Linked DNA regions of Homo sapiens: regions 1, 3 and 4 are each linked to region 2. Evidence: promoter capture Hi-C in 16 types of primary human blood cells and fetal thymus (Javierre and others, 2016). All regions are on one chromosome and are shown on one strand. The core of a region is centred on a gene start or on the middle of the fragment in contact, and the rest is flanking DNA. Distances in the headings are between cores, read along the strand shown. Region 1 overlaps NCSTN (nicastrin). Region 2 holds the start of ITLN1 (intelectin 1). Region 3 holds the start of ATP1A4 (ATPase Na+/K+ transporting subunit alpha 4). Region 4 overlaps COPA (coat protein complex I subunit alpha).

The links. Contacts are between HindIII fragments. The CHiCAGO score rates a contact against its expected background, and 5 or more counts as called.
Region 1: a fragment that was not itself captured here is called in contact with the fragment with the promoter of ITLN1 in region 2 in 5 of 17 cell types (naive CD4 T cells, non-activated CD4 T cells, naive B cells and 2 more); the score reaches 7.1 in naive CD4 T cells.
Region 3: the fragment with the promoter of ATP1A4 here is called in contact with the fragment with the promoter of ITLN1 in region 2 in 11 of 17 cell types (total B cells, total CD4 T cells, naive B cells and 8 more); the score reaches 16.3 in total B cells.
Region 4: a contact is called between a fragment that was not itself captured here and the fragment with the promoter of ITLN1 in region 2, in 1 of 17 cell types (total B cells). The highest score is 7.4, in total B cells.

Annotation. Positions count from the first base shown.
Region 1 is chr1:160,352,643-160,359,541 of GRCh38, reverse strand. It overlaps NCSTN (nicastrin), which reads right to left. Exons shown (of 17, transcript NM_015331.3): 9 at 6,551-6,655; 10 at 6,305-6,382; 11 at 5,252-5,424; 12 at 3,785-3,887; 13 at 3,584-3,679; 14 at 3,195-3,282; 15 at 2,788-2,942; 16 at 2,289-2,501; 17 at 593-1,393. The coding sequence ends at 1,271. Among named protein-coding and RNA genes, the nearest start is that of NHLH1, 11 kb to the left of the region's middle. The HindIII fragment of the contact is 3,648 bases long and covers 1,012-4,659 here.
Region 2 is chr1:160,883,487-160,890,760 of GRCh38, reverse strand. ITLN1 (intelectin 1) reads left to right here and starts at 5,581. Exons shown (of 8, transcript NM_017625.3): 1 at 5,581-5,700; 2 at 5,878-5,941; 3 at 7,235-7,274. The coding sequence starts at 5,884. The HindIII fragment of the contact is 4,692 bases long and covers 5,570-7,274 here.
Region 3 is chr1:160,145,824-160,153,425 of GRCh38, reverse strand. ATP1A4 (ATPase Na+/K+ transporting subunit alpha 4) reads right to left here and starts at 1,823. Exons shown (of 22, transcript NM_144699.4): 1 at 1,239-1,823; 2 at 202-261. The coding sequence starts at 1,385. The HindIII fragment of the contact is 4,407 bases long and covers 1-3,831 here.
Region 4 is chr1:160,314,927-160,322,229 of GRCh38, reverse strand. The region is part of intron 8 of COPA (coat protein complex I subunit alpha); the gene reads left to right. It also overlaps the pseudogene SUMO1P3. Among named protein-coding and RNA genes, the nearest start is that of COPA, 25 kb to the left of the region's middle. The HindIII fragment of the contact is 2,829 bases long and covers 2,590-5,418 here.

The sequences.
Region 1 (6,899 bases), core at 1,586-4,085, 530 kb after region 2:
TTCATCTCTGTACCCCAGCCAGTGTCTCAGAGTGAATAAAGAAATGCCTGTTCATGGCCGGGCGCGGTGGCTCACGCCTGTAATCCCAGCACTTTGGGAGGTCGAGGTGGGTGGATCACAAGGTCAGGAGGTCACGACCATCCTGGCTAACATGGTGAAACTCCGTCTCTACTAAAAATACAAAAAAAATTAGCTGGGCGTGGTGGTGGGTGCCTGTAGTCCCAGCTACTTGGGAAGCTGAGGCAAGAGAATGGCGTGAACCCGGGAGGTGGAGCTTGCAGTGAGCCGAGATCGCGCCACTGCACTCCAGCCTGGGTGACAGAGCAAGACTCCATCTCAAAAAAAAAAAAAAAAAAAAAAAAAAAAAAAAATGCCCGTTCATTACAAAGTGAGAAGAAACTATGTTAACATTGTTCTTACAAGAGGAGAACCAGGGCTCTGCAATTTGAAAGGACTTCAACTGTTTTTGACAGAGCCTTACTCCTTGGGTCCTCTGGAGCCCAAGATGATAGCATAAAAGATAACTTCATGACTTCCAGTCTAGGCTCGCTGAACAAGGTGGCCTGGGAAGAATAACTAGCAGTACAAGTCGTGTGGGATAATCTATTTTAATGAAACTCATTATATATATATTTACAAAAAGAATAAAGGAAAAAGACAAAAACAAAAATAGATATTACAGCTTAATAAAAAGTACAACTGAGCACTGTGGGCTGGAGGTGGGATACCCACCCGCAGCACGCCCACCCTAATGTGCCATCTGAGGGCCTGGAGAAAGGACAGTGGGAAGGAGACAGTAGGCTCAGCCCAGAGATGCCCCTGTCCTCAGGGGCTCAATGTAGTTTGACCCTGACATTAAACCTTTTATGTCCTTCCCAGTCAGGAAGGTGGCTGGGTACAGGGGTGGGGGTGAGGAGCAGAGAGAGGTACAGGGCAGGAAGGAAAAAGTAGAAGGGTCCTGAAGGGCAAATTAGGGTGGGTAACTAGGGAGTTAAACAGGAGCAAGAAGCTTCTATTTGTAATCCCAAAATCTGGCATGAGTAGAGAAGGAAGAGGAAATGGGGAAGGGGTGATGGGAAAGGGGAGCGGAGGAAGGGAGGCAATTTATTTATTTCTCCCTGTCTCTTTTGGATAGTTCCACTCTTTTATGTTAATCCCAATCTGAGACAGGCCCAGGGAGGTTCCAGTGACAAATTAGTGGTTGTGTCCCAGTGGGACAGATGCTCTAGGAAGTGAACTGCTGAGCTGGCAAGAAAAGCTGGGGTCCTCCTCAGTATGACACAGCTCCTGGCTCCCGGGGAGCAATGAAAAGGACATCAGCTTTGGCATTGATGCAGTAGGTGACGATGAGGGAGAAGATGAGGATGCCGAAGCCCACTGTCAGGGTGATCAACTGCAGGGGGAGGGAGGGCAGGAAAGGACAAAGGCATTCTCAGAACTCAGTGCAGTTTTTTGGATAACTGTTTGGGGTTTGGAGCCATGGGAATTCGGATGCTGGCTCTAAGCACCAACTATGGAATAATCATGGGCAACATCTCTCCAGCCTACAGACTTTGTCTCCCCATTTGAAAAGAGAAGTAAAGCATCTCTGTTCTTGCTTCCATCTTGTATTACTTAGATTTTAGGCATTTTGAAAGGAGGGCCCATGGCTTTGGTTCCCTTGCGGCACTTACATTACTGACTTGTGACAGGAGCTCGGTACATTAGACTGACTCATCCCAGCTGTGCCAGATGGGGAATGCCAGCCGGGAGTTGAAGCTGTGAAAGAGTTCTGGGATCCACAGGGGCTCTCCAGAATGAACACCTACTCAAACTATCTGTGAAGAAAGGCCTCCTGGCCGGGTGCAGTGGCTCACGCCTATAATCCCAGCACTTTGGGAGGCCAAGAAAGGTGGATCACCTGAGGTCAGGAGTTTAAGACTAGCCTGACCAACATGGTGAAACCCATCTCTACTAAAAATAAAAAAAAATTAGCTGGGTGTGGTGACACATGCCTGTAATCCCAGCTACTCGAAAGGCTGAGGCAGGAGAACTGCTTAAACCCAAGGGACGGAGGTTGCAGTAAGCTGAGATTGTGCCATTGCACTCCAGCTTGAGCAACAAGAATGAAACTCCATCTCAAAAAAAAGGCCTCCTAAGGGAACATGCTGGCTGACCAGGGACAGATTTGCAGTAGGCTTTTGCTACAAATGTGGGGCAAATGGGAGATGGAAAGGGCTATATGACACAAGAAAGCAGAGAAAGAAGTCAAACAGATCCCTGCCACCTATGCCCCTGCCCCATCTCACCTCAAGCTCTTTGCTGGCGATGAGAAATATCCGGGCACGGATATCTTTCCAGCGGCTCTCAGTCCATGTAGAGTATTCAGTAGAGCTCCACTGACTCAGTTCAAAGGCAGGAGACAAGGCCCTGGCTAATCGTGCAGTAGAACGCACACACCGGGGGAGTCGGTCCGTCTCATTAGAATGCAAAGGGCCCTGGACCCATGAGTACTCATACAGCTGCACAGAAGATGCGCCACAACACACGGCTAGGGTGATCCTCTTCTCACTCGTTCCCTCTACCCTCTATCAGTGCCATGCTCTAACCAATTGAGCTAACTGGCTGCTGTCCCTTTACCCTTCAGATGGTCCATTTTCACCCAGGCTTTTCAACACCCAATTGCTGAGGACTGCATCTCTCCACCTCTCCATCCCAATCCCCTGGGTCTAACTAGGTCTAGAAGAACCTCCAACTTTCCCAAGGGAAAGGGGCCCCAGGGCACTTCCAACACCCACCACCACTCACATCCTTGTTTTCACTTGGGACTTTACTTGGATCCTGGCACTGCTCTCGGGTGAGGTTGACCACTGTGCCAGTCAAATTTGCCAAGGCATACTGTACAACATAAGTGGTGTTGGTGGGGCTGGAGACAGCGATGTAATGTTGAAGAGGCCCGTCACCTGAGTGCAGACCAAAGGGAAGGGAAGATTTGGTGGGTGGATGGTGGGTGAAATAGGAAAAGCCCAAGATTGGCAGCAGCCAGAAAGAAGGGCAATGGAAAAGGATCCATCAAATATGAGAAGAAAGAAAGGAAAACAGGGGGTAAGAAAAACAGAGAGGAAAAAGAAAAAAAATAATAAAGGTTAAACCAAAAGACTTTTTCTCTATCCCTTTCCTCAGCTAAGGGTCCCATTCCCACACCAGATGCTTACCCAAGTAGGACCTTAGGTCCTGCCTGAGGATAGACTGGAACCATGAGTTGTTGGCTTTAATCAGGAACCCATAGAGCAGGCGGGTAACCTAGGATTGGAACAGTAAAGAGAGAAAACCCTGTGACTTGAAGGGAGCCCAGGGAAAGAATTATCAGTGGAGACCCAGTCATGGGGCAGGAACCAGACTGGCCAGATAGACTGGAGTTGGGAGACAGTAGCTGGCTCATAAGATGCAGATGAGGCCCACCCAAGAGCTCTCTGGGGCATGAGGCATTCTCACCGGCATCAACAGTCATGTGGAATTCCAAGGTTTGGGACACTAGGGCAAGGGAGGATAGGGACAGCTTGCTGTGTAAATAGAAAGAAGGAGCTAGGGCCCATCTGCTTACCGTTTGGGGATCAGCCTGAACTGTGTCGCTGAAGTTGGTTCCTCCTGCAAGCTCATACAGAGCACGTCCCAGCACCGTGGCCACATCTGCCAGGGCCTGTGGTAGGTGAGGAGGGGGCTGAATGGCCCACCTCTCCTATCCTCAAATGCTAGCATCTTCACTGTGTGCCCCAGGCTCCCACCCAGCCTGGCTCAGTGCTACCTTGGCAGTGTCTGTTACAAAGTTCAGGTCCTCTTCAGGGCTCAGCCATTCGGGATAGCTCACATTAATGTTCTCAGCAGTGTCGTAAATACTCTGGTAATATCTGCCAGGAAAGCCGGCATGAGCCTTGGCTACATTTAGCCAGGGCTCTGCCCCTTTCCTCCCTCAAATGCTCCTTATGCAGGGACTCAGTATCTCATTTTCAGCATCAGAAGAAAGGGGTGAGAGACAATCAGGATCCCATATTGCAGAAGGTGTGGAGAACAGGGAGGTAGGAGTGAGGGTGAGGTGGTTAGTGAAAATTAAAGACTTTCCTGACAGACAAGGTAGAAAAGCTGAATGAGCTCAGATCTTTAAACAAAGGAGAGACTCTTCTACATCATTTGGGCTGGAGATATGGGGGATGGCTAAGATGATTTTCAGAGAACTCTGCCATGTATCATGAGATCAGTTGTATAACTGTTCCAATGAACATTTATATTTAGGGTAGCTGGGAGCAGGAGGTGATTAGCAGGTCTTAGGATCAGGTCTGCTCACTGATATATAAGAATACACTGATAAAATCACCATGATGATCCTTATGGAGCCCCAAGGAGATAGATCTTAAAAGAGAGGCTGAGCTCCACAGTCTTTACCATCAGTAAATCCCTGTCCCACACAAAGTCAAGTCAGCTACATAATCAAATCCAAAATGTGTTCAAATGATGAATCTTCACTTGCCCCAAAGTGGTACAAGGATAGCTTTAGAGAAGACAGCTGACCCTAAGTGCTAGGACGGTCACTCCCCTAAATGAATGAGAAGGTGCTACTTGGCTGGGGTCAGAAATAGAGCTCAAGCATTTTCACTACGAAACTCATTTGGCCCTCGGGAAGCTTGGCAATCCAGCCTGAGTAAGAAGTCCCCTGTTATCCAAGGCCTCAAGTTAGGAGCAGTTAAAGGGTAACCCAGAGTTACCCTTTGTATCTCTGGAGCCCCATCAGCTATAGGAGGCACTTTTACCCTCGCACTGAACCATGGCCATCTACCACATGGCAAGAACATGGTACATTTCACAGAGTATGAATACTGTTTCTGGCACCTCTGGGTGAGTTCCAGAGAAGGACTGCTTTCTGTCTTCTAGCCAAAGGGCCCCCACCATCCTTCCCATGCTTGTGTTTGAGATGATGCCCTCTGCTGGCAACCCTGAGGAACTCAGGACCCTGGAGAGCTAGGGAGCAGTGGAACCATAACCAAGGATTGTTGACAGTAAAGGGCTAAGGGTGAGGATGAGTTTCTAAGATGAATATCCAGTCAAACAAATAAGGGTTTCAGTTCAGATGTGAAAACGCCACTGAGCAAAGAATACAGATGGACCTGAAGTTCTGGAGGGGGTAGTGTGGGAAAGCGGAGGGCAGTGACCTTCCTCCCAGACTGCAGAATAGACTCTCTTCAAGAATGAAGAGGGTGCAGGGCCAAGTGATTCTTACTTGTTATGGAAGGCACCAGAGTGGTCAGCCAGAACAACGCCAGAGATGTTTCGAGCTCGAAGAAATCGCTGCAGGGAAGATGGTGGGAGAGGCTGGGACTGATTTGGCCTCCTGAGGATGACAGCAGGGACACCAGCACCACTCTTCTCCAATGTGGCCAGGAGATCCTCCACCTGGGGGGTACGAGGGAGATTAACTGATGGGAGGCTGGGGGATGGGAAGCAGGAGGTCTCTTTTAGGCCTGAAATGCTCTATACTTCAAGTTCCCTGCTTGGGGAGCTACCCTATCTCTAGTAGACCTTTATCCCTCAAGCCTTTTGGGACCAAGGCTCTCTGAATTTCCTGTAGCTTCCACCATTCTTTTTAGAGTTAGAAAATTGGGGCATAAAGAAGAGACCTTTTTTTTCATATTTATAAGTAAATTCTACTGTCTTCAAGACTCTGCTTTATCCTCAGTGGATGCTTCACTTATTATTTATTGTGCAGAATTGAAGGGAGCAAATAATAATAGAAAACTGCGTGCTGAATGCCAAACAGATAACCAATTCTTTAAATGCTACAGGAGTCCAGAGCAGGGATGATGCTGAAGGCTGGAATTGCAGAAAGAGGACCACCTGGAAAAAAGCAGGCCTAAAGGTGGACCTAGAGGGAAGGGAAGGTTTTGAACAAGCAATGAGGAAAGTGGAGGACAAGTTGGGCAGCGAGTGTGACACAGCCAGGACTTGGGTAGAGCAGCCTTGACAATTGGATCCATGGGGCAGCAAGGCAAGAAGGGAGCTAGTCACTCACCTATCCTTAATGGGCAGTGGTAGTCTGCTAGGCAACAAATGATCAGAGAACTACCCAGTCCAGGGAACCAATGGAATGTCACTGAGTTCCTGATTCTTCCCAGCAGCAACAACAGCTGTGGTGTTCATCCTTTGGCCAACACCCAATCCAATCCTGTCTCTTACCCTGTCTCACAGGCCCTGGGGGTTGGTGGAAACAGGGCAGGGGTTGGGGTCTGGATTCTGAGCTGTAGGAATAGGAAATGAGGGGAGATGCTCAGGTTACCTGGTTCCGTACAGACTCATTTTTCTGAGAAACAGGATCTGTGTGCATCCAAAGCTCTAATGAAGTTCTTAAGGCCACCTGGGGGGAGGATGAAGAAACAACACTTAGAATCAGTCTCCTGTTCTGGGCCATGCCTAGGGGATAGAAGTCAAGGGAAGAGGCGGTGGTTCCTGCAGTTAAGACCGCAGAACAACAAAGGAGGAAGATTTAATTAAAAAGGAAGGGGCTGGGGGACATGCCACATACCTGTCCCAGCTCCACAAATGAGTCAACATTCTCTAACTGCACGGGAAACTTGCCCTTCTCCATATCGTAGACCATCCTCGAGCTGCCAATGTAGTCAAAAGTTTCCTGAGAGATGGAGGTAGGTGGGAGGGGGAACAGAGATTCCAAAGGGTTAGGAGAGCCTCGAAGGCGGCCAGATCATCAAAGCTGTAGGTAAGACGACTATCTCAGGTCACCTCAACTGCTAGTCAGCTTACAGTCATGTGACTTTCGGCTTCTCTTGGCCCCACCTCCCAGCTGTGACTATCCCTCATATGTATTACAAGACTTCTGAAGCCCAGAAATGGGGAAAGTAGCCTTAGTAAAGGTC
Region 2 (7,274 bases), core at 4,332-6,831:
TTTTTAAATTTGGTTCTAGCAGTCTCCTAGAATACCAAACACTTTCATTTAATCATTTAATCTCTAGCAGACCCTGGTTATAGGTCCACTTCAGGTCTATTCTTGGAGTTGTAAACATTTTATCATTCTGTCTTTCAATAAATATCTTCTGAATCCTCACATAAGCAATGCAGTGTGTAAGTATACCTTAGTATGTAGCAGAAGGGCTTATGTAAAGCAAGGGGGCTTTTGCACAGGCCAAATAGGAAAGTAAAAAATCCATGAAGAATAAAATATGGGTGCTATACACACCTGTTGATTGAGTTTGGGGCTTCCCAGCTGAGGTGAGCTGCTGATGGCAGTGGTAGTAAAGAGAAATCCAGGTTTTTGAGATAATCTTTCTTAATGATAATCACACCTTTCACATATTCATGTACATTCTCATTTTGCTCTTGTCATTTCACTCCTCACAACAGTCCTGTGAGGTAGAGCTCGTTACTCACATTTTTATTTTTATTTTTTGAGATGGAATCTTGCTGCATTGTCCAGGCTGGATCACAGTGGCGAGATCTCAGCTCACTCTAACCTCCACTTCCTGGGTTCAAGCAATTCTCCTGCCTCAGCCTCCCAAGTAGCTGGAATTACAGTTGCGCACCACCACAGCCACCTACTTTTTATATTATTTGGTAGAGATGGGGTTTCACCATGTTGGCCAGGCTGGTCTCGAACTCCTGACCTCAAGTGACTTGCCTGCCTTCGCCTCCCAAAGTGCTGGGATTACAGACATGAGCCACCGCACCTGGCCTTGTTATTCACATTTTACTGCATGAAAACTGAAGTCCAGAGGGATGAAGTGGTTTGCCCAATGTCACATGTCTAGTACATGATCTTGGATTGGAGCTCAAGCCTATGGGCTTGCAGGGAGTTCTCATTTCAGAGTACCAACTCTATGCTAATGTCAGAGCTAGCATTTTTTCACCAAATCTAAGGTATAAAATGCACCATTGTTTTATGTACCACTCAAGATGAAATACAAACTATGATATGCCATTGAATGAAGGATGCACTCAATATCAGAGATATGAAAGTGTTAGACATAGTTTTATAAGAAGCATAAATTTTATTTGGACTGGGCACAGTGGTTCACACCTATAATCCCAGCACTTTGGGAGAATGAGGTGGGAGAATCACTTGAGCCCAGGAGTTAGAGACCAGCCTGGGGAACATAGTGAGACCCCATCTCTAAAAAAAATTAGAAAATTATCTGGGTGTGGTGGCATGTGCCTGTAGTCTCAGCTACTCAGGAGGCAGAGGTGGGAGTATCGCTTGAGCCCAGGAGGTCAAGGCTGCAATTAGCCATGATTGTACCACTGCACCCCAGCCTGGGTGACAGAGCAAGACCATGTCTCAAAAAAAAAAAAAAAAAAAAAATCGAATATTTGTCTTGGACCTAGATACAGTCTATTTCCTTTTGTTAATATATCTGAAAATATATAGTTCAATATTTTCTCTCCACAAATAAAGTATTAGCTTAACAAATATGGTGCCTCATAAACCTTTTCTTAAGAACTGCTGTGAGAAACATGTAAACAGTGAAAAGGTCATGTTATCGTGTTAAGATAATAATGGGCATAAGGGATGTGGCAACACCGGGCAGGAAGTGATCCATCCCATTGTTGAGGGAGAAGAGGCATGAGTGACATTTATGCTCAGGAAATTGAGGAGTGACACTGGGACAGAAATGGCAAAGCAGGTATTGAAGCATCAGAGGAAGTTTGTCCTGGATCAGTGATTCCAAAATGTAGTCTGGGGGCCAGTGCTACTCTAGAATGACCCCCCACCAAAAGAGTGTTTTCATTGGTTTGTAGCAAAATGAGAAAAGTAAGAAAAAATATTATTTTTCATAAAACTAAATTTATTCAAGCTGAAAATTTATATTTATTTTGATACTTTGTCTTTCCTGTGCTGTCATTGAGATATATATATATCTTACAAATATATATATATCTCACAAATATATATATATTTGTGAAATCAGTTGTATTTCTATATATAAGCATCAAACAATTAGAAAATAAAATTTCAAAAATATGGCATTTATAATAGCATCAAAAATGTCAAACACTGCCAGCATGGTGGCTCACGCCTGTAATCCCAACACTTTGGAAGGCCAAGGGTGTGAGGATTGCTTGAGCCCAGGAGTTTGAGACCAGCTTGGGCAACATAGTGAGATCCCATCTCTACAAAAAATAAAACAATTAGTTGGCCGTGGTGATATTTACCTGTGTTCTCAGCTACTTAGGAGGCTGAGGTGGGAGAATCACTTGCCTGGGTGACAGAGTGAGACCCTGTCTAAAAAAAGAAAAAAAAAGTCAAATACTAAGGAACAAATAGCAAATCATACACAAAATCCCTATAAGGAAGCTATAAGATACGAAAAAGCAATAAAAACACAAATAAATGAAGAAACAGGCCACACTCAATATTTTAAAGACGTAAATTATTTCTAAATGATCTATAGATTCAATGTAATTCCAATAAAATCCTAAAGGGTGTGTGCATGTGTGTGTGTGTGTGTGTGTGTGTGTGTGTGTGTGTATGTGTAGAGGTAAACGACCAAGAATAACCAAAAAAGAAGAGCAAAGTGAGAAGCCTTGCTCTACTGGATATCAAGACATTTTATCAATCTAAAATATTTGGAACAATGTGGTATGGGCACAAGGAAGTGCTGATTTCCATCACAGTCAGGCCAGTAATTACCTTTGGGAAGGGAGAGGTCTGTTATCTGGAAGCAGCATATGGGAAGCTTCTGGGTGCTGCTAAAGTTTCATTTCTTAGCTAGGATGATAATTACACAGGTATTTGCCTTTCTTGTAATTTATTAAACTGCACATTTAATGTTTTATATCTTTCTCTGTATGTGTAATTTTACAACAAACCTTCTCCAAGTCACTGGAGATGTAGATGTGGGGCTGGAGTGAGTTGGTGGTGAGGGGCTTTCTTCCACACTCTTCTATCTTCATGCACATCTATACTGTCACATACGTACCTATACTCTCAGCACTTTGGGAGGCTGAGGCAGGATTGTTTGTGCCTAGGAGTTCGAGACCAGCCTGGCCAACATGGTGAGAACTCGTTTCTACCAAAAATACAAAAGTTAGCAGGGTGTGGTGGTGTGTGCCTGTATTCCCAGGTGCTTGGGAGGCTGAGGTGGGAGGATCACCTGAGCCTGGAAGGTTGAGGCTGCAGTAAGCTGAGATTGTGTCACTGCACTCCATCCAGCCTGGGCAACAGAGTGAGACCCTGTCTCAACATAAATAAATAAATAAAATAAAATAAAGAGAAGCTGCTGTCAAGCAAGCCTGGATCTTGCCCTCTCTCTCGATTTTCTATTTCATGAGGTAATAGATTTACTTTTTAGAAAAGCCACTTTGAGATGGGGTTTCTATTAGTTACAGCTACAAGGAACCAGACTGAACTAAATAAATGTCCAGGGCAGTGGGGTTTGGAGGAAGTTGTGTGGGGAACAGATTCAAGAGGAAGTAGGGGTAGAATCAATGGGACGCAATCACTGATTGGATGATGATGGTTAGAAGGGGTAATGTCCTTAAAATGGATGTACTGTTTTCCCAGTCTATTAGATGGCATCATGTACCATTAAGGATGAGATGCATAATGATATTAAAGATGTCAAAATACAAAAAAAGTGTCTTAGAATCAACTAAAGAAAGTAGTATAAGTGTATATTTTCTTTTTTTATTTTTGCAAATATGTTACTGTTTTATTAAGCCATAAAGTTTTCAGGTGGTTAGTTACACACAGTAATGAACAACTGAGGGGATGTTTAATTTTTTTCTCTAGATCTTGGGCCCTTGGTGTTAACTTTATATACATGTATTTACTATTGTGAACTGTAAACTTAGAGACCTCTATTTTTTTTTTTTTTTTTTGAGATGGAATTTCACTCTTGTTGCCCAGGCTGGAGTGCAATGGTGCGATCTCAGCTCACTGCAACCTCTGCCTCCCGGGTTCAAGCAATTCTCCTGCCTCAGCCTCCCGAGTAGCTTGGATTACAGGCGCCTGACACCGTGCCCAGCTAATTTTATATTTTTAGTAGAGACACGGTTTCACCGTGTTGATCAGGCTGGTCTTGAACTCCTGACCTCAAGTGATTGGCCACCCTCGTCCCCTCAAAGTGCTGGGATTACAGGTGTAAGCCGCAGCGCCTGGCTGAGACCTCTATTTCTAAGAGGTTGTTGTTTGTAAATATGAAAGCTGGGTATGTTCATTTTGTTACCTATACTGATGAGTTAATTTAGTTTCTAATACATTTAATTTTATTTAATTAATTATTTTCCAGATACACAGAGCAAATAGCTTCTAATAGATTTTAAATTTACAAAAGTATAACTTTTTTTTGCAGTTTTTCTTCTTGGGTGCTATTTTATTTTCTTCTATCAATATGTGAGTATTTTTTGCAAATCAGTACTTTGAACCAACAAATAGGAAATATTAGCTTAACAAAAAAGATATTCACAATCTTTGTAAGAAAAGGTTGCAGTATTATTAATGCTATAATGACATTATGTATTAAATGTATGATATCACTGGGGAAGAACTGAGTAATTCTATTACAGCTGCAGGGTAGCATTTGAGAACTTCATGACATAGGAGCAGGAATAAGACAGGAGGTTCGAAGCAGCAGAGAGGTTTCGTATTGATTCAGTTTCAAATGAATCCTGTAGTAAATTTTCCCTCGTTTGTGGCAAAATGACAAAATTAAAGACAAAGTAGTGAGTCTTTGTGTGAAACTAAATTATTCAAACTAAAGATTTATATATTTTTTAAAACTTTTCTATTCGTATTTTTTTGTGTGTTTTGTATCTCTTTCCCCTCCATTCCTTTTTACCAATTTATTCAGAAATGATCACTTTCCCATTTTGTTAAAATTTCCTTTTTCTATTTCTATGAATTGATAATTATGGCCAATGATTAATTTCATTTATTTATTTATTTTGAGATACCTAAGCTGAAGTACAGTGGCACGGTCATATTTCACTGAATCCTCTATCTCTGGGACTTAAGTTACCCTTTTGCCTTGCCTCAGCCCCACCTGAAACTATAGGCAAGTACCACCATGCCATGCTAATTTTTTTACTTTTATTTTTAGTAGAGAAGAGGTTGCCCTATGTTGCCCAGGCTGGTCTCAAACTCCTGAGTTCAAGTGATCCTTCTGCCTTGGCCTCCCAAAGTATTGGGATTTGAGCCAATGTGCCAAGCCAACAGATGCTTAATTTAGAGAAAGTTTTTATTTTGCAAGAAAGAAAGGCACAAAAACCCAAAACCAACACCAACTCTTGTTAATCTCTTCGTCTACTTCCTACTTGACACAGGTCCATGAAACCCCCAGATCCAGGAACAACGCTAGCAGGTGATTCTTAGGATTGGTTTTTTCTTTAGAACCTGTTAATTCCACTGTATAAATAACCTCCCCGAGATAACCAGAAGCCTCCCCTGCACTGGGCATTGTGCCAGGGGAGGGTGAGGCTGGAAACCTTGGTTGGCCCCACTGGGCTTCCTCCATAAAGCTTTCTGCACCTCATTCCACATCAGGAGCGTTTTTGGAGAAAGCTGCACTCTGTTGAGCTCCAGGGCGCAGTGGAGGGAGGGAGTGAAGGAGCTCTCTGTACCCAAGGAAAGTGCAGCTGAGACTCAGACAAGGTCTGTGAGTTGGGGGAATCCTGTTTTCAGCTTAGGTCTGCTTTTGGTCTCAGAGATGTGTGAAGTTTAAACAAAAGGCAAGGGGTTTTGGAGTCTTTGTAAGACTGGACAGGGGTGGGGCAGGGATGTAGAGAAAAATGATGGCCAAGATGGTGACCTTCATCTTGCTTTCTTTAGATTACAATGAACCAACTCAGCTTCCTGCTGTTTCTCATAGCGACCACCAGAGGATGGAGTACAGGTGAGTCACGCTGCTAGGGACAGCAGTTCCTTCAGCTGGATGACTTCCGGGATCCTGGTCTCTCCCAGGACACAGAGCATGTCCTTGAGATGCACAGCGGCTGGCTTGCATGTAGACTGAGTGCCGATTTCTGGTCTCTGGCGGAATCTGGCCTGTGGCAGTGAAGGTATTGCTTGAGGCATGTCCTGGGTCCAGGCTCTGTGCTTTTGTGTGGCCCTGAGGGGGCTGTGGCAAGAACTGTGTCACCTTCCAGCCACTGCCCACTCCTGTGGCCTTGGCTGTGGGATTTCCATGGGAACTACATGGTCTGCTTTGTGCCTGGAGAATGTTCTCTCCACAGTTTTCCTCTCTACAACAAGAATAACAATGACATTTTAAAATTTATATTTTTCTTCACGTCTAAAAATTTTTTTTTTAAAGAAAAGGCTGTTTCGAAATATCTTCTTACTTCATCTTTGCAAAAGCACTGTTTATTAACTGTGTTTTAGGTATGAGGAAACTGAGGTCAGTCACCTCTGACCTCACAGCTTTCCCCTAGACTGTTCGAATAGTTTGCAGACTTTTTGGAGTAGAGATTAGTCTCACCACTCCCTACTTCACACCCCATGTTTCAGCCATATTAAGCAGCTTGTAGTTCTACAGCTGGACTACGCTGTATTTTTTTTTTTTTCTCTAGGCCTTTGGATATGCTGTTTTCCCTGCCTTGGATTGGCTTCCTACTGATAAATCATGTTTATTCTCTCAGAATAAGCTAAGATGTCACCTGGACTGGAAGGTCTTCTGTGACTAAGACATGAGACAACCCGTCTTGCCTTCTTCTCCCAGGCAACTGCCCCGCTTACTGTCTGGCGTTTCCATTCTCCACTGTTACCTCAGAGTCTTTCTTTTGTTCTCTTGAGTTTGCCTTTCTTCTACCATTTATTCTTGTCAATACAATTTTCTGTTGACTTGTTAGCAATTCCCTCTAGAGGCAAGCTCTTGCTGGGGAACTTTAATGTCTTTGATTACTCAGTGCTTAGGGCAGGACCCAGCACAAGGACAGGTCTTGTGGCGGGAGGCAGACTTTAAGCCTGTGCTGGCTGTCAGGTCGGATGGGCTGAGTGGATATGATGCCGATGGGCTGAGTGGATGTGACACTGATGGGCTGAGTGGATATGACACTGGCTGTCTCAGGCCTTACCACCCGGGCAGCGAGGTTCTGCTACAGTGGTGGAATGAGCGTGGGACTAGTGATAGGAGAGGGTAGGTTTTGTGTCAAACCGGGAATGAGAATAAACCCTGTGTATTCCCTAGATGAGGCTAATACTTACTTCAAGGAATGGACCTGTTCTTC
Region 3 (7,602 bases), core at 574-3,073, 730 kb after region 2:
TAGTCCCACACTCTCTTTGAGGGTAGTTACCATTTGCAGCTTTTTCCAGGTAGTGTCCATGGAACGTGGCCAGGCAGAGGGTGAGGGGTGGGAACGTTGGACTTGAAGTTAGGGGGCTGGATTCCTAGTTCAGCTTTTGTCCTGGCAGCCTCACAGTCAGAGTTGGAGACTCTCTGCCTCCTCAGGGAGCTTCTTACTCACCTTTGTCAGGTCCACGGAGTACTTGGTGCTCAGCTCTTCCAAGGTTAATTTGTGATCATCCTGAGGGGACAGTAGAGGCATTGAGGGACAGGGGGTGGCCCAGGTCATTTCCAGGGAGAGGGGGAGAAACAGACTGGAGAATGTTAGTCCAAACTGAGACTGCTCCATTTTGTAAGCTCCCTGCAATTCTTTTTTTGAGATGGAGTCACTCTGTTGCCCAGGCTGGTGTACAGTGGTGCGATTTCGACTCACTGCAACCTCTGCCTCCCAACAGGTGTTTCTCCTGCCTCAGCCTCCCAAGCAGCTGGGATTACAGGGGCCCATCACCAGGACCAGCTAATTTTTGTATTTTTAGAGGCGGGGTTTCACCATGTTGGCCAGGCTTGTCTCAAACTCCTGACCTCAGGTGATCTGCCTGCCTCAGCCTCCCAAAGTGCTGGGATTACAGGTGTGAGCCACCACGCCCGGCCTAGCTCCCCACTATTTTACAGGCCTTGGTCAAAGTGAAACATTTCACGGGGGTTCGGGCCAGAGAAACAGCCTGCCTAACCACCTGACCACAGGGCAGACGAAGGCCCAATTAAAGACAAAGACCCCACTAAAGAAACATCCCTATCACATCCTGCTGGGCAAAGGTCCAGGGAATACCATGATTATATTCTGTGGAAACAAGGGCCAAAAATCACCTCATCATGAGAACATCTTATCGATATCCTGCCAGGCAGCAGGCCATACAGCCCAGACTCCTCCCATCCATCCCTATAAGTACCCAGCCTGTAAGTGGCAGTGGACTGTGGAATTAAGCTGATCCCCCACTTCCACAGGTGTCTGCAATATACCTGTGCTTGCTGTTGAGCTGCCCTGTCTCTCTGTGTGTATCTTTTTTTTTTTTTTTAACCCTCTCCTTCCCTCCAAAGCCTAACAGAGAAGAGATGTGGCTCTGGCCTGTGTGTTTCATTCTCAAGGTAAGATGTTAAAGATAGGTGGAGGAGTGTTTTCAGAGGGCAGCTGTCAGCGCCCACTTTGGGTGGCCTCACCATGACCACTTCCTTCTTCAGTTCCTCCATATTGCGCTTCTGTTTTTCCCTCTTCACCATTTTTTTCTTGATAAGCCCTTTTTTAGGTCTTCGTCTTGGACTCTGGTCATGGGGAGCCACTGTCCCTTTCTTCCCCCAAAGCCCCATAGCTATCCCCAGAAAGAGCTGCCCGAGCTCAACTGTGGGAAGAAAGCTGAGAGAGTGAGGCAAGGGGAAGGGAAGAGGGCGCGCGGGCAAGGGGGCCACGAGAAGAGAGTGGTGGGGAGAGAATGAGGGAGCAGAAAGAAAGAGGCAGGGAGGGAGGTGTTGGGTGGTGAAGGTGAGAGAGAGGAAGGGAAGTGAGAGAGGAGAGACTGAGCGGTCCTCCAGCCGTCCGCTGGGAAGAGGAAGAGTCAGGAGTGAGGGAAGAGGGAGGAGAGAAGCCTAGGGTGGAAGGATAAAAAGGTAGAGGTGAGGGAATGCAGTGAGGGCAGGAAACAAGAGGTGAAGCGTAACCAGGTGCCTCAGTGATGAAGATGCCGCAAGGCCCACAGGAAGGTGGGAAATGCAGTGAGAGTGAGGAGGCGGAGTGAGCTTCAAGGATCTGGGAACCCCCCAGTCCCAGGCCCTGTGGTTGCTGGGGCAATGACCCAGGTCTGGCATCACAAAGGCCTCCTGAAAGTTCTAACCAAGAATCCAGAAGTCTTGCCTTGGCGATGGTCCAGGTCTGCTGTCGCAAAGGCCTCATGAAGGTTTTAACCAAGAACCTAGAAGTCTCAGTCTTTGGGTTTGAGGACGATTGGAGCAGGCCCTGCTACAGAAAGAGTTTCAGTCTGAGGGCAGAACTAGAACAAAGTTCTTGTGTGGTCCTGCAGACTTTGGAGGCTTAGAGGTATGCCAAATAGATGACTCAAAAATAAAGCGGGTATTCGGCCGGGCGCGGTGGCTCATGCCTGTAATCCCAGCACTTTGGGAGGCTGAGATCGAGACCTTCGTGGCCAGTATGGTGAAACCCCATCTCTACTAAAAATACAAAATTTAGCCAGGTGTGGTGGTGGGCACCTGTAATCCCAGCTGCTCGGGAGGCTGAGGCAGGAGAAACATCTGAATCCAGAAGGCAGAGGTTGCAGTGAATTGAGATTGCATCACTGCACTCCAGCCTCGGTGACAGAGTGACTCCATCTCAGACAAACAAACAAACAAACAAACAAACAAACAAACAAACAAAAAACCATAGCAGGGAGCTTACAAAATGGTGCAGTTGCAGTTTGGACTAATATTCTCCCGTCTGTTTTTGAGACTCCATCTCAAAAAAAAAAAAAAAGCAGGTACTCTGTGTGTGTTTTTTAGCAAGGCACACTTTTCCACTAACATTGGGTTTGATCTTTTAATTTTAGGAGATCAGCTAGCAGAATAGATCAGATCTTGGGCTCTGGAACCAGTCCTGGATTTCAATCCCAACTCCTCCACTTGTCAGCTGTGTGGCTTTGAGCAAGTTACCTAACCTCTGTACCTCTCTTTTCTTATTTTTAAAAGAGGATACCTTCTACCTTAAGTGAGGTGCTCTACAAAAAGCACTATGTGACATATATAGTATGTGCTCAATAGGTAGCTTGAATTCAGTAGTAGTTTTATTTGTGGATTAATATGCAGCTCTTCTCAGTGAGGGTAAAAATATGCTTTTCCATGTGATAGCGTTGCATTTTCTCATTTTAAAATGATGTACTTACCTCTTCCATTGACCTTCTCTGGTGTCTCAGTAAGTGCTTTGACTATATTAACTGTATATATGTTTTGCATGTCCATAGGATTCTACCTCCTTCCAAGAATAATCTGAAGCATCTATACTTTTCTGTCAACCATTATATATATTTTTCAATTATGCACGTCACATAGATTTTCCCATTCTGTTGTTTGATATTTGTTTATTTACTTTTTGAGACAGGATCTCACTTTGTTGCCCAGGCTGGAGTGTAATGGTGCGATTATGGCTTACTCCAGCCTCAACCTCCCAGGTCCAAGTGATCCTCCCACCTCAGCCTCCCAAGTAGCTGGGACCACAGGCATGTGCCACCATGCCCGGCTAATTTTTTTTATTTTATTTTAGTAAAGACGGGGTGCCCCTGTGTTGCCCAGGCTGGTCTCAAACTCCTGGGCTCAAGCAATCCTTGGCCTTGGCCTCCTAAAATGTTGGGATTACATAAGTGAGACACCAAGCCTGGCCTGATATTTATTTAATTGCATTTTGGTTGGGCATGCTTTTTAAAAATATGACTGTATCTGGAAACATTCATCTTGGTGCTGATGCAATCCTCCTTGAATATTCAGAAATAGAAATGCTCCCTTCCCAGCTGGGATAAATGATCGTCTATTTCTTTAACAGATTGGATTTTTCTTCTCTATTAAAAATGTTTAAGATAAAAATTGAAAGCCCCACCTTCCCTCCCTCCAAACTCAGATTCTCCCCACTGCTGAAGTTACTGCTGGTAACAATGTGCTGCATGTCCTTCCAGTCTTTTTTCTATGTTTATACAAATAGATATCTAAAAGGAGGTATTTTTCAACTTTTAAACAATCATTCAACTCTCTACCAACCTGTCATGTACATAAAGCTTCTTTTTTTCAGTGCTGTGAGGCTTCCATATTCTGTATTGACCATGCTCTATTCAATCATTCCCATTACTGATGGATTTATGAGATATTTTCCATTTTTTTAACCATTAATAAAATTGCTAGAGTGTCATTCTTGCACATAGATATCATCAGGCCCTTGAGCTTCTATTTCTGTAGAATCAGTTCCTGTTGCTGAATCATAGAGTACACTCATTAACAATCTTAAAAGATTCTGCCAATTGGTCTTTAAAAGTGTTTATCTATCTGCATCCCAACAACAGGATGCAAGAATGTCTGCCTTCCACACCTTTGATTATGCTAGATGACCTTGATTTTTACTATTATAATCAGTGAACTTTGATATCTTGTAGTTTTAATTTGCATTTTTAAATTGTCAATGTGAGCATTTTCTCTTATGTTTACTGGCTTTCTGGTTTTCTTTCTTTCTTTCATTTCTTCTTTTCTTTCTTTCTCTCTTTCCTTTCTTCCTTCCTTTCTTTCTCTCTTTCTTTCTTTTGACAGGCTGGAGTGCAGCGGTGCAATCTCAGCTCACTGCAACCTCCACCACCTGTGTTCAAGCGATTCTCGTGCCTCAGCCTTCTAAGTAGCTGAGACTACAGGCACACGCCACCATACCCAGCTGATTTTTTTGTATTTTTTAGTAGAGATGGGGTTTTGCCATGTTGGCCAGGCTGATCTTGAACTCCTGACCTTGGGTGATCCGCCTGCCTGGGCATCCCAAAGTGCTGGGATTACAGGCATGAGCCACCATGCCTGGTCTTGGACTTTATTTATTTATTTTGTAAATTGTCATTCTTACAATTTGCCCAATTTTCCATTGTTTTCTTTTTTATATTGATTTGTAGGAAACCCTTGTCATATATAACACAAATGTTTTCTCCCAGTCTTTGTGTTTAATGTAGATGAACATAAAATTCTTAAGAAGAAGGTTAGAATTAAAGTTAAAATTCATATGTTTTTCTATGCATCATCTATGTGACAATAACACTTAGCTCAGTCTTGCAGATGGGCATTGCCCAAAAGCAACTTTATGGAGATACAATCAATTGAAATTATTTTTAGAAACCTCATTTTGTTCTAGAGATCTTAGCTCAAAAGTCCACCTCTTCGGAGAGGCCTTCTCTCATAGTTAAATCCAAAACAGCCCCTCCGGCGCCAGCCCTCTCTCTATCACTTTTGATCTTCACAACACTTCTCTCCCTCTGAAATTATCCTGCCTGTTAACTGTTGACTTGTCTGATTGACTTGTCTTGTTGACTTGTCTGGTTCTCCATGACCCTAGGGACCTTCCCTGTTTTTTTCCACAGCTATATACCTGGCTCCTAGGATAGTGCTTGGCACAGGGCAGCTGGTCCACAAATAGTCCCTGAATAGATGTTGAATGACTAATGAGTTTTCAGGTTTTATCTTAATGCTACAAGGTTTTGATAATTGCCACTTTGGTCTGATTTTTTTTTTTTTTTTGAGACGAAGTCTCACTCTGTTGCCCAAACTGGAGTGCAGTGGTGCAATCTCAGCTCACTGCAACCTCCACCTACCGGGTTCAAGCGATTCTCCTGCCTCAGCCTCCTGAGTAGCTGGGACTACAGACATGCGCCACCATGTCTGGCTAATTTTTGTATTTTTAGTAAAGACAGGGTTTCACTATGTTGGCCAGGCTGGTCTTGAACTCCCGACCTCTTGATCTGCCGACCTTGGCCTCCCAAAGTGCTGGGATTACAGGCGTGAGCCACCGCGCCCGGCCAGTGGTCTGATGTGTTTTAAAATCTGTTGGGGTAAATATGTTAGCATCAGTGATCTATTCATTTGCTTCATAATTACTTAGAAAAAACCTCTGAGATTCTTGCCTGATTACTCTTGCAGCTGAATGTCACAACCAATATGTCATGTTTTATAAAAATGCAGCGAGGATTTTAATTGATATTGAATTGACTCTTTCATAGTAACTTATTTTTATCTTTACTACGTTCTGCCTTCCCAAATGGCAGTCAAGTTTAGCTTTCCATGAATTCATGTTTTTTTATTTTTCTCATTGTACTTTTAAATTTTCTTTAATAGTTACTATGTGCTGCACACAGTAAACCTTGAGCGTAATTTGTTTTCATTCTATTGTAAATAGAAGCTCTTTATGCTGTATTTTCTGTCTCCCTAATATTTAGGGATACATTTGCTTCTTTGAAAACTGATACCCATATACCCTGTAACTTTGAATTTATTGCTTCTAGGATTTTTTTTGTTATTGATGCTGTTGCTTTGTTTTGGCTGAATTTCTTGGATTTTTAGGGAGTTATGCTCGCTAAAAACAAAGTTTTATTTATTTAGAATTTTTATTTATTTATTTTTATTTTTTGAAACAGAGTCTTGCTCTGTTACCCAGGCTGGAGTGCAGTGGTCCAACCATGGCTCATTGCAGCTTCAACCTCTCAGACTCAAGCGATCCTCCTCCCTCAGCCTCCCAAGTGACTGGGACCATAGGTGTGGGCCACCACCCCAGGCTAATTTTTTTTTTTTTTTTTTTAATAGAGATGAGGTCTCACTGTGTTGCCCAGGCTGGTCTCAAATTCCTGGGCTCAAGCAATCCTCCTGCGTCAGCTTCCCAAAGTGCTGGGGTTGTAGACGTGAACCATAGCACCTGGCTTATTTAGAACTTTTTTTTTTGGAGATGGAGTCTCTGTTGCCCAGGCTGGGGTGCTGTGGCACCATCTCGGTTCATTGCAACCTCTGCCTCCTGGATTCAAGTGATTCTCAAACCTCAGCATCTCAAGTAGCTGGGATTACAGGCACCCGCCACCATGCCTGGCTAATTTTTTTTTTGTATTTTTAGTAGAGACGGGGTTTCACCATGTTGGCCAGGCTGGTCTCAAACTCCTGACCTCAAGAGATCCGCCCACCTCAGCTTCCCAAAGTGCTGGGATTACAGACGTGAGCCACCGCGCTCGGCCTTTGTAGAACTTTTAAACACAAACTGCTTATCGAGGATTTCAAATGTTTTATTGCAATTATTTGTTATAGTTGCTGTTATTGGTTTTCTAGACTTACTACATCCTTTCCTCTCTTCTCTGAACATGATTACATTTTCTTTTTTTTTGAGACCGAGTTTCACTCTTGTACCCCAGACTGGAGGTGCAATGGCGGGATCTCAGCTCATTGCAACCTATGCCTTCCGGGTTCAAGTGATTCTCCTTCCTCAGCCACCCGAGTAGTTGGGATTACAGGCGCGCGTGCCACCACGCGCAAATTTTTGCATTTTTAGTAGAGACAAGGTTTCACTACGTTGGCCAGGCTGGTCTCAAACTCCTGACCTCAGGTGACCCACCTACCTCGGCCTCCCAAAGTGCTAGGATTACAGGCGTGAGCCACCGCGACTGGCCCATGATTATATTTTCTGATACACTTTTTCCTCCAACATTTTTATCAGTAATAGATACTGAATTTTACTGATAGCCTCCTCAACCTTTTTTGAAATGATTATTTCATCCTTTGTCTAGTTAATGTTAGTTGTTTGTAACATTTTCCTTGTAATATGCTATCCTTGCATTCCACCATTTGGGGTAGTCAATTTATTATCTATATTAAATATAAAATTTTAACAAAATAGTACTTATCTCATAAAATAGGCTGGGCAACACAAAACACAAAATAATTTTTTATATTCCAGCACATTTTAAATAATATAAGGAAATTCTTTGAGGAATTTGCAAAAAATCCTTCATTGAATTCACTGGAGCCAAGGATATTTTTGAAAGACTCA
Region 4 (7,303 bases), core at 2,755-5,254, 570 kb after region 2:
TTACTCTAGCTTTGTAGCAAATTTTGAAGTCAGGTAGTGTGATGCCTCCATCTTTGTTCTTTTTGCTCAGAATTGCTTTGGCTATTTGGGGTCTTTTGTGCTGCCATATAAATTTTAGGATTTTTTTTCTGTTTCTGTGAAGAATGTCTTTGATATTTTGATGGGGAATACAATAAATCTGTAAATTACTTTAGGTAGTAATTTACCCTATCATTTTTACAATATTCTTTCAACCCACAAGCATGGACTATCTTTCCATTTTTGGGGGTCCTCTTCAACTTTTTTCATCAGAGTTTTATAGTTTTCCTTGTATGGCCCTTTCACTTCTTTGGTTAGAGTGATTCCTGGGCATTTTATATTTTTTGTAGTTACTATAAATGGGATTTCTTGATTTTTTTTCAGATTATTCACTATTGGCATATATAAATGCTACTGATATTTTGAGACAGGATCTCGCTCTATTGCCCAGGCTGGAGTACAGTGGCTCGATCTTGGCTTACTGAAACCTCCCCCTCCCAGGTTCAAGTGATTCTCATACTTCAGCGTCTCGAGTAGCTGGGACTACAGGTGCACACCACCACACCTGGCTAATTTTTGTACTTTTTTTAGAGACGAGGTTTCACCATGTTGGCCAAGCTGGTCTCGAACTCTTGACCTCAAGTGATCTGCCCACCTTGGCCTCCCAAAGTGCTGGGTTTATAGGCATGAGCCACTGCACCTGGTCATGCTACTGATTTTTGTATGTTGATTTTGTATCCCGCAGCTGGACTGAATTTATCATTTTGGTTGAGTCTTAGGTTTTTCTAAGTATATGATAATGTCATCTGTGAACAAGGGTAATTTTTCCAATTTGTTTGTCCTTTATTTGTTTCTCATACCTACTTGACCTGGCCAGGACTTCTAGTGTTTTGTCGAATAAAAGTGGTAAAAGTGGGCATCCTTGCCTTCTGGTCCGTAGAGAAAAGGCCTTCAATTTTTTCCCATTAAGTGTAATATTAGTTGTAAGTTTATCATATATGGCCTTTATTGTTTTGAGGTATGCTCTTTCTCTACCCATGTTGATAATAACTTTTGTTATAAAGGGATGTTGAATTTTATCCAATGTTTTTTCAGCATCTGCTTAACTATCATATGGTTTTTATTTTTGATTTTGTTAATGTGATATATCATGTTTATTGATGTATATTGAACCATTCTTGCATCCCTGAAATGAATCCCACTTGATCTTAGTAAATGATCTTATCAGTATACTATTGAATTTGGTTTGCTAATATTTTGTTGAGGATTTTTGCATCTATGTTCATCAGTGATATCGGCCTGTAGTTTTCTCTTTTTGTGGTGTCCTTGCCTGGTTTTGTTATCAGAGTAATGCTGGCCTCATAGAATGAGTTTGAAAATATTCCCTCCTCTTCCTTTTTTTTTTTTTTTTTTTTTTTTAAGAGTTTGAATAGGATTGGCATTAATTCTTTAAATGTTTGGTAGAATTCAGCAGTAAAGCAGTCAGGTCCTGGGCTTTTCTTTGATGGGAGAATTTTTATTAAGGCTTTGATCTAGGCACTGGTTTTTAGAAGTTTTTCTATTTTATCGTGGTTCAATCTTTTTTTTTTTTTTTTTTTTTTTTGAGTTGGAGTCTCGCTGTGTTGCCTAGGCTGGAGTGCAGCAGGGCAATCTTAGCTCACTGCAGCCTCCACCTCCTGGGTTCAAACAATTCTCCTGCCTCAGCCTCCCAAGTAGCTGGGACTACAGGCTGTGCCACCATACCCAGCTAATTTTTATGTTTTTAGTAGAGACAGGGTTTTGCCATGTTGTCCAGGCTGGTCTTGAACTCCTGACCTCAAGTGATCCACCTGTCTCCACCTCCCAAAGTGCTGGGATTACAGACGTGGGCCACCATCCCTGGCCTCGTGGTTCAATCTTTGTAGGTTGTATGTGTCTAGGAATATATCCATTTCTTGTAAGTTTTCTAGTATGTTGGCATGTCATTCTCGTAATAGTTTCTAATGATTCTTTGTATTTCTGAGGTCTCAGTTGTTATGTTTCCTTTCTCATTTCTGATTTTATTTATTTGGATCTTCTCTCCTTTTTCCTTAGTTGGTCTAGCTAACAGTTTGTTGATACTATCTTTTCAAAAAGCAAGTGTTTCGTTTCATTGATAGTCTGTATTTTTTTTAGTCTCAATTTTATTTCTGCTCTGATCTTTATTGTTTGTTTTCTTCTACTAATTTAGGGTTTGGCTTGTTTTTTATTATCTAGGTCCTTGAGGTGTATCATTAGATTGTTCATTTGGAGTCTTTCCTTTTTTTTTTTTTTTTTTTGACATAGGTGTTTATGTTATAAACTTCATTCTTAGTACTGCTTTTGTCATATCCCATAAATTTTGTTACATTGTATTGCCATTTTCATTCGTTTCAAGCAATTTTTAAATTTCCTTCTTAATTTCTTCATTGATCCATTAGTCTTTCAGGAACATGTTGTTTAACTTACATGTGTTTGTATTTTCTGAGGTTCCTCTTGTTATTGATTTCTAGTTCTATTGTGTTCAGAAAAGATACTTAATATAATTTCTATTTTTTACAATTTTTTCAAGCTTGTTTTGTGGCCTAAAGTATAGTTTATTCTGGAGAGTGTTCCATGTGCTGATGAAAAGAATATTCTGTAGCCGTTGGGTGAAATGTTCTGTAAATTGCAGTTAGGCCTATTAGATCTAGTATGTAGTTTAACTCCACTGTTTCTTTGTTGATTTACTGTATGGATGATCTGTCTGTTTTTGAGAGTGGGGTATTAGCTCTCCTACTATTATCATATTGTAGTCTACCTCTCCTTTTGGATCTATTAGTGTTTGCTTTATATACTTGGGAGCTTTGGTGTTGGGTGCACAGATACTTATAATTGTTATTTCCTCTTGCTGAATTGACCCCTTTATCATTATATAGTGACCTTCTTTGTCTCTTTTTACAATCTTAGGTTTGGTAGTCTGTTTTATCTCATGTAAGTATAGCTACGCCTGCTCTTTTCTGGTTTCCAGTTTCATGGAATATCTCCCACTCCTTCGTTTTCAGTCTATGTGTGTCTGTATAGGTAAATGGGTTTCTTGAGGGCAGCATATAGTTAGGTCTTCTCTCTTTATCCGTTTAGCCACTCTATGCCTTTTAATTGAAGAATTGAGAGCATTTACATTCAGTGATATTATTGATAAGCAAGGACTTATTACTGCTGTTTTTTGCTTGTTTTCTGGTTTTGTTTTGTTTTTTTTTGAGGCTTCTCTCTTCCTTTTCTTACTGTCTTCTTTTGTGGTTAAGTGATTTTCTTTGGTAATATGTCTTAATTTGATGCTTTTTATTTTTAGTGAGTATATATTAATAGTTTTTGTGCTGTAATTACCATGAGATTCACAAAAAAAAATCTTATAGATAGAATAAGGTATTTTAAAGAGATGACAGCTTATTTTATATCACAAACACAAGAACAAAAACAAAGGCTAAAACACACTCAGAAATTATACATTTAACTCCATTTCTGTTCCTGCCTTTTTGACTATCTCTTTAACATGTTGCTATAGCTATTATTGCTTTTGATATATTTGTCTTTTGGGCTTCATAGTAAAGTTATAAGTGGATTGTGTACCACCATTATAGTAATATAGTCTTCTGGGTTTGTCTATGAACTTAATTTTACATCTTGGGTTTTATATCTTGAAAAGTTTTCTTTTTGCACATTAGTGTTTTTTTTTTTTTTTTGTTTTTTTTTTTTTTTTTTTTTTTACAAATATTGTTTATTTTAATGAAGCTGGTACAGACAATGTCCATTTAAAACCCATATCCCAGGCCAAAAAGTACAAATAAAATCAAAAAGAGCAGTGTTCTGTTGTATTCATTTCTGCATGTATAGCTTTATTAATTGCTAATGAAAATTAGAACTTTTCTGGGATCTTCTGACAAGATTTTTAAAAAATCTTAAAATGCCTTTTCTTCAATGAAGCCATCTTTGGAGTTAGTCATTACTCTCTCCTTATCAGTTATCTTGACTTCAACCCGATATTCCTCTTCTTTTGGTCCAGACCCTCAAATTTAAGAGTAGCTTGAAGTTAAGGAAAGGTCATTTTTCCACAGTTTCAGTTCTCTGAAACACTTCCATCTCCCACTGAAAGTCACAGTCCAGGAGTGAAGTAATCACATGCTAGAACATCAGGGCCAATTCGCAAGTTATTATGAACGCTTGCATTGGTCAATCTTATTTATCACCACAAGCCTGAAAATGCAATGTCCTGAAAAAGGTGGGCTCTCTGTGCACACGTAATTTTTAAAAAGGAGAGGGTAATATGAAGGGGACTGAGGCTTGATCACCAAAAATCAGCACAATGAAAATAAACAATAATGAATAATGAGCACTAGAATTCAGATTACCAGATGTTTCAAAGAGATGGGGTGCCAGTTTTCAATTCCGTTTTTAACACCACATTACAAAAGAACTATTTTTAAAAATGAGAAAGGATTGAGGGAAAAGAAAAAAAATAAAAAGAATATCTAAACTGTTGAATGACCCCCCATTTGTTCCTGATAAACTTCAATCACATCTTCTTCCTCCATTCCCAGTTCTTTTGGAGTATGATTATCAGCAATTCTCTGACCCTCAAAGAGAAACCTGAATGAATTCATTGGAACGCCCTGTCTTTGACAGTATGATTCTTTGAGTTTCTTGAGATGTGTTGTCATTTTCACTTTGAAGTGAATCTCACTGCTATCCTGTCCAATGACTTTGAGTTTAATATATTCACCTTCCTTCTTATCCCCCAAGTCCTCAGTTGAAGGTTTTGCCTCCTGGTCAGACATGATGACAGTGGCTTCACCCGGGGGTCTCCGCACAGCAGCGGCCTCGGGTAAGCAGAACCTCACTCCGGGGTTTACAAATCCTTCTCCCTTCCCCACAGCACAACACCGCAGCTGCAGTAACTTCCGCTACCACATTAGTGTTTTTTTCTTTCAGATCGAAGAACTACTTTTAACACTTACTGTAAGATGGATCTGGTGGTGGTAAATTCTCACCTTTTGTTTGTATGGGAAATACTATCCTTCATATTTGGAAAATAAAATAATCTTGCTGGGTACAGTATTCTTAGATGTCAGGTTTTTTCTTTGAGCACTTGGAAAATGTCATTCCTCTCTCTCTTGGCCTGTATGGTTTGCATTGAAACATCTATTGCCAGACAAATTGGAGCTCCTTTGTGTGTTCTTTGCTTCTTTTCTGTTGTGTATTTTAGGATCCTTTCTTTGTCCTTGACTTTTGAGAGTTTGACTTTTATATGCCTTAGGGTAGTCTTACTTGGGTTGGACCTGTTTGGTGTTCTCAGGCCTTCCTGTACCTGGATATTTCTTCCTCAAGTTTTGGAAAATTTTCTGTAATTATTTCTTTGAATAAGCTTTCTACGCTTGCTCTTGCTTAGCTCCCTCTTGAAAACCAATCATTCTTTTTTTTTTTTTTTGAGACAGAATTTTGCTCTTGTTGGCCAGGCTGGAGTGCAATGGTGCGATCTCAGCTCACCATGACCTCCGCCTCCCGAGTTCAAGTGATTCTCCTCCCTCAGCCTCCCGAGTAGCTGGGATTATAGGCATGCACCACCACACCCGGCTAATTTTGTATTTTTAGTAGAGACAGGGTTTCTCCATGTTGGTTAGGGTGGTTGCAAACTCCTGACCTTAGATGATCCGCCCACCTCAGCCTCCCAAAGTGCTATGATTACAGGCATGAGCCACCACGCCAGCCAATTGTTCTTAAATTTGGTCTTTTGAGGCAATTTTCTGTATCTTGTAGTCTTGTAGGTAGTCTTTGTTCCTTTTCATTCTTTTTATTTTTTCCTCTGACTTCTTTTTTTTTCAAGACAGGGTCTTGCTCTGTCACCCAGGCTGGAGTGCAATGGTACAATCTCAGCTCACTGCAACCTCCACCTCCCGGGTTCAAGTGATTCTCCTGCCTCAGCCTCCCAAGTAGCTGGTATTACAGGCATCCACCACCAGGTCTGGCTAATTTTGGTATTTTTAGTAGAAACAGGGTTTCACTATGTCGGCCAGGCTGGTCTCGAACTCCTGACCTTGTGATCCACCCACCTCGGCCTCCCAAAGTGCTGGGATTATAGGTGTGAGCCACCATGCCCAGCCTGACTGTGTATTTTTCAAACAGCCAGTCTTCGAGCTCACTGATTTTTTTCCTCCACTTGGTCCAGTCTGCTATTCAGAGTCTCTAATGAGCTCTTCATTTCAGCAAATGTGTTTCTGTTTCAAGATTTCTGTTTGATTTGTTTTCATTGTTTCAATCTCTTTGTTAAACTTCTCTGGTAAATTTCTTAATTGTTTTTCAGCCATCTCTTGGCGATAACAGGGTTTCCTTTAAACTACCAGTTTTAATTCTTGGTCAGAGATCACAAATTGCTGTCATTTTAGGGTCAGTCATTGTATTTTTGCTTTGTCCTTGTGGGGAGGTTATGGTTCCCTGTTTGCTATTGTTTATTTTGGGTATACACCTATGTCTTTGTATTGAAAGATTAGTTACTTATTCCAGTTTTCTCTGTTTGGCTTGCTTTGGTTTTTATTGGATATATTTGCTTAGCAAATCTGTACTGCTAGGTCACTTCCTCCTCTTTGGCTTTAGGTGACACCTTAAGTCCGGGTTCACCTTGGCTTTAGTAAATGACCAGAGCATTGTCTGTCCTGAATGGGGAGGTCCCAAAGGGATTATCCCAGCTGTGTGTCAAGGCTGGCTAGAGGTTCGTGTATGGGCAGACCTGTGGAATATACTTCCTGCAATGCAGTGCTGCTGAGCAGCCACTCTGATTTGGCATCTCCTTTGGCCAAGTAACAGAGCAGAGTTTCTGGGGCTGGGTGTGATAGTCTTGCCTCCCCGCTTTCTCTCTGCCTGTCCTCAGGGATATTTCCCCTTTCAGGCAGTCGTGATGCTTCCCATGGGTTAAGTCAAGGTTAGATCTCCTGCCAGGGCACCCAGGAAGATGGGGAAGGTAGTTGACCTCCTCAGTCTCACTTTTTCCAGTGTAGAAACCATGAGTTGGGGGAGGGCCATTGCAGATGTGGAAATCAGATGCTCTTACCATCTGCTCAGAGTTTTTTCATCTCTCTGTGGCCCCAGGAACTGTCTCATTGTCATATTTGAGTTCTGGGTTGTTGCTGATGAAAATCTCAGCACTGTATATTTGTTTTGGGTTTTCTGTGGAGGGGAGTGAAGCCAGCTTGCTTCTATACCACTGTTTTGAAACTGAAAGTATTCCTTCTTTCCCTTTTTTCCTGTGGTGGTACCC